2 separate regions of the Homo sapiens genome follow, and region 1 is linked to region 2. Evidence: promoter capture Hi-C in human tissues and cell types (Jung and others, 2019). All regions are on one chromosome and are shown on one strand. Each heading gives the region's core, a stretch centred on a gene start or on the middle of the fragment in contact. The rest is flanking DNA. Distances are from core to core; before and after follow the strand shown.

Region 1 (5,002 bases), core at 995-3,494, 400 kb after region 2:
ATCCGGGTGGGCAGAGCCCCACTAGGGGAGTGGTCCAGAGCAGGGGGGGCTGTGTCTCTTCCATGTGCCCTCAGCAGCAGCTGCAGCTCGGTCTCGCCCTCCCCAGGCCGTCCCCAGTGCTGCTGAGCTACGGTGTCCCCTTCGACGTGGCCAGGAACGCGCTCCGGCTCAGCGTGGGCCGCAGCACCACCAGGGCCGAGGTGGACCTCGTCGTGCAGGACCTGAAGCAGGCCGTGGCGCAGCTGGAGGACCAGGCCTAGCACTGGGGCCGCCTTCCCCACCCCGCTTCTGGGAAGCCCGTGGCAGGGCACAGGGTTGTCCCTCCAGTTCCCTCCTGAGGGCTGTGCCAGGATGACTGTCTCATGCCCCCTCTGCATTTTGTCCTGGAGTGCCAGCGAGTGTGCACCCCCAGTTTCCTTCCCTGGACCCCTGCAGAGCTCACAGGGCCCAGGACACCAACGCCGCATAGGACTGCCCACATGGGACCGCCCACATAGGACCGCCCACATAGGACCGCCCACATGGGACCGCCCACATGGGACCGCCCACATGGGACCGCCCACATAGAACCGTCCTCCAGTGGTGAAGCGGAAACACTTAGCTTTATCCACCCTCCCCACTGGGAACTGGGCACGCCTGTTGTGAGTGCCCTTTCCTGGAAGGTGTTTTTATCTGGAAGATAGAATCCAAGTATTTATAACTCATTGTCAGCCAAATGCTATCATGAACGTAGGAAACTTGATTTTTTTGTTTTGATCATGGCCTCTACATGCACCTTTCCAGAGTGGTCTCTTCTCAGGCCCTTTTTAGTCCCTTTCCAAAGCTGCCCCCACCACCCTGCTCCTCTGGCCTCAGTGCACAGTGGCCCCCAGCCTCGGCCAGGCCTGCTCTGCTCAGCGCCCACCGCCCACCACCCCTCCTGCTTCCCCGAGCCTGACCCTGTTCCGCCCACTGGCAATCAGGGCTGCGCACTTCCCTGTCCACGGTCCCCAGGCCTTCCTGTCTTGTCCCTTTTGATCATTATTAACTCAGGGTTTCAGCTCCAACCTCGCTGAGTTGGTGCAGCTCCAGGTCATTCCTGGGGTGGGAATCGGATCATCCCTGACTCAGCTTTTACCTTAATTTTATTTGCAGAGGATTCTTTTCTCAAAATGCTCTGGCATTTGGACACACATCACATGTCGATATTTGCATAGGAGTCATTTTCAGTGGAATAACATTTTTAATGTGTGGTTTTACGGTTCAAGGAACTACTTGATGATTTTGAGGAAACACTTGCCAGAAACTAAATTAACGAATAAAAGATTTCAGTGCCCGACTTGGGGATCCTGTGGTTTCTCTAGTGGGCACTGCGCTTGGGCACAAAGTCATCTGACAGAGCCTGTCGGGGGGAAGCCAGGGGTGCAGCAGCCCCCAGGTCACCATTGTGTGATGATGCGTTAGCCCAGAAATCCAGCTTGAGGCTGTGTCTCCGGAAGCCCCTACAAATGTAATGGGTCCCCCATCTGCAGCTTCCCATTGCTGCCAGGAAGAGGCTGTGGTGGTCCTGACTTCCCTAAAGAAGAACTATGGATTGTCCAGAACAATCTGGAAAGGGGTTAAATGTACTTGGGCCCTTGGGGCTGCAGCCCAGAGACTTGGTCCGTGTAGTTGGAGAGGGGGCCGAGGCAGGGGCTGACACCTTCTCGCCTCAGAGGCCTGGACACACCCAAGTCAGGGTCCTGAGCCCATTGCAGGCCCCGTGGAGCCACTGTGTCCCCAGAGATTCCTAGGAGCCTCCAGGGCCGAGGGCCGGGACCCAGAGGCGGGGCGCTCAGCTCTGTGGGTGTCAACACAGCCAAACATGTAGACCTACTGGGCACCCTTTACTTCAGACACACTGTGGTGGCGGCTGGGGGTCTGCCCTTCTGTGAGAGTTGGGGGAACTGTCTCCCAGGCCACTCGGGGCTCCTGTGAGAAGCTCAGTGGCGTGTATCCTCAGCCCTCGCTCCACAGATGAAGTTCCTGCCATCTGGACAGATCTGAGCAGCCTCAGGGCCAGCCTCCTTTCTCTGCTGGCCATACCCAGCCCTGACCTAGCCTGGTGTGGGCCTTTCCCTGTGCCCTGTACTCCATCCTCCCAGCTCCAGGCACCTGGCACCCTCACACTGTGGGAGTGGCTTGGGCAGGTCCTCAAGGCCTGTCCCCCCACCCGACCCCACCCCACCGCCTCCCATCTGCCCTGTGGCAGCTTATCGGGTAACCAGAGCCGGCAGCTTCATCCACGTCTGAAACAGGAAGCCCCAGCCTGTGCATGAGTCGCCACTGAGAGCCCGGGCCAGAGGATGGAGAAGCAGCGGGCACTCGTGGCCGCCAAGGATGGGGATGTGGCGACGTTGGAGCGGCTGCTGGAGGCTGGCGCCCTGGGCCCGGGCATCACCGATGCTCTGGGGGCCGGCCTGGTTCACCACGCCACCCGGGCTGGCCACCTGGACTGCGTCAAGTTCTTGGTGCAGCGGGCCCAGCTGCCCGGCAACCAGCGGGCCCACAACGGGGCCACCCCAGCGCATGACGCCGCTGCCACGGGCAGCCTGGCCGAGCTGTGCTGGCTGGTCCGCGAGGGGGGCTGCGGTCTGCAGGTGAGCGGGGATGGGGCAGCCTGGCTCCACGAAGCTGGCTGGGGTGGAACCAGGGAGGTGTGAGCCACGGAGGATCAGAGTACTGGCCACCCCGGGCTCCATGGCCCTGGGCCCTTTGTTTCTCTTGGGGACTCAGTCAGTGGTTACCGTCTCTGCCCCACGCCTCTCAGAGCACAAAGGCTTGAGAGCCAAGAACACCTCCTAAATTTTCTTATCACCTTCCCTGCCAGGAAGCTGGGCGTTGCCAGTGGGGGTCTTGCCAGATATCAGGACCCCTGTCTCTGATCAGGCCTGGTCCACAGGGCCTGCCTCCCAAAGGGTCTAGAAAGGGATCCTTACAGAAGCACTGTGGGAACTTGGGCTTGAGAGCTGGGAGCCTAGCCCTGGGGGACGGGAGTTAGGGCTGCTGATGGTGATCGTCTTGTCCGGATCGTTTCTACTGGGCCCCCCTCCCCTATCCTGCCTGCCCAGTCCCCTTTGTGCAGGCGAGGCCCTTAGAGCTGTCGCTCAGCCCTGTGGAGCTTTCAGGGCTGAGGGTGAGCAGGACTGACCGGCCTTAGAACGCCGCCGCCCAGAGGTCAGAGTTGAGGTGGGGGCCGGTGGGGCCTGCTTAGACTGCGGAGCGGGAAGGTTCCCCAGCACCTGGCTCGCCAGAGCACCTGAGAGTCCCGGCCCAGCATCCTGTTCCTGTCGGCCCTTCCGCCAAACCCAAGGGCAGCAGGCGGGAGCTGTGCCTGCCTGGGGATCCATTCTGACAGGGCCCTTGGAGAAGGCCCAGGTCTGCTGGACCCCTGACACCTGTGGTAGGAACGCTCCCTGGCCCCGGGACCCTGTGGCCAGCGGGAGGGCACTGGGGCAGGGGACCAGCCAGAGGTAGGTGTCCTGGGAAGCCTTTCTGACCATGAGCAGAGTGGGCAGGTGTCTGCGGGCACCCGACTGCGTGGGAAAGGGCCTTCTCCACACTGGGGACGGGCCCAGGAGAGGGCAGGGTTGCCAGAGGTGGCCTCCCAAGACCTGGACCTGAGTCCTGGCCCTCCTCTCACCTCAGTCCCAGCAGGGAGCACCTCCCTCCATGTTGCAGGCAGAAACGGAGGGAAGGAGGAAGGAGCTGGAAGCCCCTTCACTGGGTTGCAGGCAGTGTGAGCCCTCGCCCAGGGCCCACCTCCGGCAGCTGGCTCTGACCTCACGGCCTACCCCCCACTCACTGACCTACCCGGGGCTTGGTAGGACCAAGATGCCTCGGGCGTCTCCCCGCTGCACCTGGCCGCCCGTTTTGGACACCCAGTGCTGGTGGAGTGGCTGCTCCACGAGGGCCACTCGGCCACGCTAGAGACCCGGGAGGGAGCCCGGCCGCTGCACCACGCTGCCGTCAGTGGGGACCTGACCTGCCTCAAGCTCCTGACAGCCGCGCATGGCAGGTAAGGAGCCCAAAGTCCCGCCTGGGGGGGCAGCCTGGGGCGAGCTGGCCAAGGGGAGGCTGCACCATGGAGGGCCAAGAGGACAGGCTGGTGGCCTTTGAGGTGAATCCTGCAGGCGGGCATGCTGTCACTGTGGGGGTGAGCTGGCAGGAGCCAAGGGCAATGAGGCCTCTACCCACAGGCCAGGCAGTGGCAGTGCCATGCCAGGGCCCAAGGGGACACAGGCCAGTGCTTCAGCTTGGAGAGTGGCTGGGGGCGGTGACGATGGCAAGATGCTGCTGTGATGCCCAGGGCAGCTCTGGCCCCACCTGGGGGCATCTCGGGACCTAAAACAGCTGGGGACGTGGGCAGCTGGCAACCTGTGAGGGCACCCTCCCATCACCTGACAGGAGTGGGGACTGTCTAGTGGACTTGGGGACACAGAGGCTGGAGCTGCCTCTGCACTGCCCCACCCCTGTGCTGGGACCCCTAGAGCCGGGCGCTGGCCTCATCGTCTCTGGGGCCCTGTGCCCCCTGCTGGAATTAGTGGATGGGCAACGAGGAAGGACCAGGGTCAGGACAGCCAGTAAGGCAGATGGCCTCCCTCCCCACCTGGAAGCTCCTCCAGTCCTCGCCCTGCTTACAAAGGTCACTGTTGTCATAGGAACAGGCCCTCTGCCTCCTACTGTCTTGGCTGAGGGCGAACCTTCCTGTCCCCCAGGGACCCACCTACCTCTGACCACGGCTCTTCTCTTTTCGAGGCAGCATCTCATTTTCCTGTCGCTGCCCCAGAGGCCTCAGTCCCCCACACCCCCTTAGCTCCAGGACAAGCCCCGACAGCTTGCTTGTGGAATCGGGTTCTCATTCCCGGGTGTTCCCATCCTGGACTGCTTGGCAAAGGCCTTTGGGATTCGCTTCTGTGGCTTTTCTCCAGAGCGTCCACACCACCCTCAGCCTTGGCTGGCCACAGTCTCTCTCAGACCCACA
Region 2 (4,594 bases), core at 7-2,506:
GAAATTATATGTATTCCGAGACTCATTCATTCATTTTGGAAAGGGCCAGTGTTTCCAGTGGTTTCTCCTTGGGATTGTAACTTTACAACTTTAAAACTAGGTAAGTAGTTTTCCCTTGAATCTAAAGTATAACTACTTTGTAGTAGAGAAGTAATTTATCTTAAATCACTATAATGAAGATTTACTCTTAATTTTAACCAAAATGTTTCATTTATTTGTGTAATGAAGATGATCAAAGCAACGCCACCTGTGATCCTTCTGTCTTTTTTACTGTATGTGGCACGTGGCTGTGTGATTTTCCTAGGGAAAGGAGTGGGCTTTCCCTGTGGGTTGAGAACCTCTGTCCCCCTCCTCTGAAGTTTCCCCAGTTTTTCCTGCTTCTCTGCTAGGTGGGTGCCTTAGCATGCTTGTCTTCTCATCGTGCTTCTAAACTTCTCTGAACCGGATTTATACTCTTAGGTCAGTAGCTGTCAAAGAAGACACTAAGTAGTGAAAGTAGCTAATATTTACCAAACCCCTGCTGCGCCCACCTGGTGTTTTATGTGAAGGTCTTCTCTAACCCTTGCTGTAACCTCATGGGGAGCAGATCGTTTTCTCTCAGTTTTTCAGATAAAGAGGAAACTGAGGCTCAGAAAGGTCAGGGACTTTCCAAGCCCTCACAGCTAGTCAGCAGTGGAGCCAGTTCAGACCCAGGCCTGCTGACTCGGAACTGGTACTGATAACTGTCACCACTGTATGCAATGCTGCAGGCAGGGGCTGGCAGGTAGTAAATGTGCAAGATATAGCTGTGGCTGCCACGGCTGCTGCTGCTGCTTTTGTCGCTGTTGTCAGCTTTTCTTGGCAGCCCTGCTGTCTCATACCCCAGTATTGGGGCTGAAGGATTTCTTTTTACCAAAGCTGCCTCTTAGGACAGAAGTCCTTGTCTTGAATGCATACTGGGAAGTCTTCACTCTGTCAAACTTTTCTGTTCTCTGCCTGGTAATTTCCAGACAGAAGAGAACATTCAAAGAACGAACTTACTTTCCTTCTTTTTTTTTATTGAGACAGTCGTGCTTGATTGCCCAGGCTGGAATGCAATGGCACAATCTCAGCTCACTGCAACCTCCGTTTCCCAGGTGCAACCGATTCTCCTGCCTCAGACCTCTGAAGCAGCTGGGACTACAGGTGCCTGCCACCTCACCCGGCTAATTTTTGTATTTTTAGTAGAGATGGGGTTTCACCACATTGGCCGGGGTGGTCTCAAACTCCTGACCTCAAGTGATCCTCCCATCTCGGCCTCCCAAAGTGCTGGGATTACAGGCATGAGCCACCACACCCGGCCCAATGAGCTTTACTTTTCTACATAAGGAAAATAATGGTAGAAATGAAATAGCTGTGAAACTTGTTTTGCTATTTTTGTACCATGCTAAAATGTTAACTACTGCTTATGTCGGCATACACCTGAGAGCTGCTGTGATTTAAGCCTTTTTATTTTTCTGGGTATGATGTAACTCCTCCCCTACCTCATCCAAGTAGATAAGTTCATGGAGGATAAACATGACAGCTGCTGTTTCTTTTATAGCTGGTTCCAGGGAATATCCACTGAATATAGGAAAGATTGTCAGTTGCTGTGTGCTGCCCTGGTGCTGGTGGAGCTTTCAGCCTTCTTCTCAGAGGAAACAATTTAAATGTTTTTGTGAAACCCTAGAGGTCTGGGGTTTGTAGGACAGTCTTGAGCAGAGCAGGCAAAGGTGAAGGGAGTGGAGCCCAGACGTGCTGCCTGGAGGGAAACCTGTCACCTGGAGAGGAAACGGCACAGGGGAGGCCCAGCCGCCCTCGCCTCTCAGTCCCGCACGTCTCTGTTAGTGGTAGTCATGGTTCTTGTATTTCCATCATGTTGAGGCAATTGAAGGAAATATGAAGATTCATTCATCTCAGGAAAAGCAAGAAATGTATTAACAGCAAGAGTAGAAGTTCACTTGCATGGAAGATACTGTATAGCGTATTTATTTCTTAGCGCCAGTGGGAGTAGCTGCTAAGCCCAAGATTGTGTTGTGAGGTTTGAATAGGTCAATGTGTGAGTCATCAATAAAGTAACATCAATCATTTTGTTCCCGATTAATACGTTTGCTATTTTAGGATGCGAAGGACTTTAAAGAAGCTTATTATTCTGAAAAGCAAAGCCTGGAGATTTCCAGTAGCAAAACAGACACAGTCTGTGGACAATCTCAGTGTACAAATAATTCACCTCTGGCATGAACCCAAAGAATTTCAGAGGGGAAGGAAGCTCTTAAAGATTACGTCCCCTCCTACTTCTTTAATGAGGGCTGGGGTTCAAAAACCGAGTAACTTATCCAGGCTCACATAACTGTAGGTGACAGAGCCCAAGCTGGAGGCTGTGGCTGGGTCTTCAGACTCCTTTCTTGACAGTCTGCACCTGCATAAACTCAGACCTTTACTGAGAACAGTGCAGCCATAGCTGAGAGAAGCAGTCGGCACCCAGCATTTCTTGGACTTGTCTGCCAGGTCCCCCGAGTGCAGAGGACAGTGTGCTGGCTCCTGGGGCCTGTGGGCCCGGCCAGGAGCAGCCTTGTAAGCTAAAGCCTTCTTTGAAGGTGGCCGTCTTACCGTAAACTTTCATGGTAATTTCAGTCTACTCCATAATTTGTCTGAGTTAATTTTGATGGAAACATAGTGTTTTAAGTAATCAGTTAGGCTTTGATCTCTAACTTTATGCCATCCAAATCTTCATGATGGCCTGAGCACCAGGCACCCAGACCTGTGCTCTGAATTGTGCCGGGGCTGGTTCATACAGTGTGATGGAGAGACGAGAGATCCACACTGGAGTTCTGAAGCTGTGGTTCTCAACCCTGTCTTTTTACAAGTTCCTTAACTTCCTTACTAGCCTGAAATGAAATGCATAGGTGAGAAAGTCAACCAGCGCACATAATTTCGAGTCAATATAACATTTCCTTAAAAAATAAAATACAGGTAGTTTATAGTAACATAATAAGAATTTTGATATAGAAATACTCAAGACCAAGTACACCAGCAGTTGAATGCAGTGATGAGACCTGCACACACCTGTGCCTGGCGTCACAGGGAGGCTGACACAGGTGTGTTGCACTGAGACCCACACACCACCCCTCATGTTGCTGTCTATGACGTGACATTCTACAAAGTTGACTAACTCTCAGGAAAGTTCTGAACAAAGCCAAGTATCATCATCTTCCTTCAATTTCCATGTCGATTGCATTCCTGGAATAGTTCATGTATATTTGAACTGTGTAAAACATATTTTGAGTTTATATGTAAGTTGCAATCAGTTTGTAAATCCAAAAATTAAAAATAGTGGTTTTTCTTTTCTTTTTTTTTTTTTTCTTTTTTTTTGAGATGGAATTTCGCTCTGTCGCCCAGGCTGGAGTGCAATGGTGAGATCTCGGCTCACTACAACCTCCGCCTCCCGGGTTCAAGTGATTCTCCTGCCTCAGCCTCCTGAGTAGCTGGGATTATAGGCATGCGCCACCATGCCCGGCTAATTTTGTATTTTTAGTAGAGATGGGATTTCACTATGTTGGTCAGACTGGTCTTGAACTCCTGACCTCAGATGATCCGCCTGCCTCGGCCTCCCAAAGTGCTGGGATTACAGGCGTGAGCCACCGCACCCGGCCAAAACAGTGGTTTTTCTATCTTCCTGAGCAGTCAAGGGAAAAGTTCTTCCCATCGCAGGCGTGTCTGAATGCGGGATGGTTGGCCGACCTGGCCCTGCCCCCCCGCCCCAATACCCTTAGCTTCTTCCCAATCTTTTTGACATCCCAGTCCCCCCAACATTTCCAAAATGCCCTCTAAGTCAACACTTCCGCCACTGCCAGCTGCCACCCCAGAGTGCCCTGTGCCTGGTAACGATCGTTCTCACAGTCATGGCCGTAGGGAAGGCTCTTTGTGGTTCCTGGGGGACTTCGTGAGATTGCCCACATGAGCATTTCTTTTGGAACTGAGATACAGTGCACATCGCCTCTGGGGGACATGGGGTGGTGGGTACACGGAACCGAGGTGAGCCTCCCTTGCGTTGCGGAGGTGCTAGCCTTGTGCCGTCCGTTCTTGTCCACGTCTGTGCAGGAGAACATCACCCGGCCCACTTGGTTGCTGTGAATAGCAAACTTTAGAGGCCACTGCATCTGAGGGTTGGGGGGTTTGCAGAGAAAACAAAAGTTGGTGGCTGTGGCTACTTCCTATAGCAAAGTGGCTCAGGAAAGGGATCCCGTGTCACAGCCTGGGTACACCACGGCCCCTCCAGGAGCTTGATTCCTTCTTAGCTCAGGGGAAGAATCGCACAAGGACCGAGGCCCCTGCTTGTCTGTGAACAAACTGGCCTTTGTGGCCACTTCAGGCTTCGGCTGCATCATATTCCTGTCACATTCACGTGAGTGAACTTGAATTACATCCTTAACACTTTTCCAAAAAGGTTATAAACTAGACTGGTGATGTATCATGGGGCCTAGAAAAATAATGCTGCTGCTTTTTCACTTCTCTGCTTGACGCTAAAACCTGGAGGCGAAAATGAATGTGTGTAATTAATAGGAGAACTTCCTCCTGTTTGCAGAGTGCTTTACAG

The links. The method cuts DNA at HindIII sites, captures the fragments that hold promoters and counts their contacts. A contact is called where the count stands out against the background at its distance.
Region 1: the fragment with the promoter of ESPNL here is called in contact with a fragment that was not itself captured in region 2 in 1 of the 25 tissues and cell types used here (H1 embryonic stem cells).

The regions. Positions count from the first base shown.
Region 1 is chr2:238,098,096-238,103,097 of GRCh38, forward strand. It overlaps ESPNL (espin like), which reads left to right and starts at 2,245. Exons shown (of 9, transcript NM_194312.4): 1 at 2,245-2,618; 2 at 3,846-4,036. The coding sequence starts at 2,325. SCLY (selenocysteine lyase) reads left to right here. Exons shown (of 12, transcript NM_016510.7): 12 at 107-1,318. The coding sequence ends at 260. UBE2F-SCLY (UBE2F-SCLY readthrough (NMD candidate)) reads left to right here. Exons shown (of 19, transcript NR_037904.1): 19 at 107-1,318. RefSeq lists enhancers at 1-89, 90-758, 393-687, 4,453-4,622. The HindIII fragment of the contact is 18,069 bases long and covers 1-5,002 here.
Region 2 is chr2:237,696,002-237,700,595 of GRCh38, forward strand. All of the region lies in intron 1 of LRRFIP1 (LRR binding FLII interacting protein 1), which reads left to right. Among named protein-coding and RNA genes, the nearest start is that of LRRFIP1, 71 kb to the left of the region's middle. RefSeq lists enhancers at 1,083-1,292, 4,399-4,448, 4,459-4,508 and a silencer at 2,356-2,405. The HindIII fragment of the contact is 4,703 bases long and covers 1-3,608 here.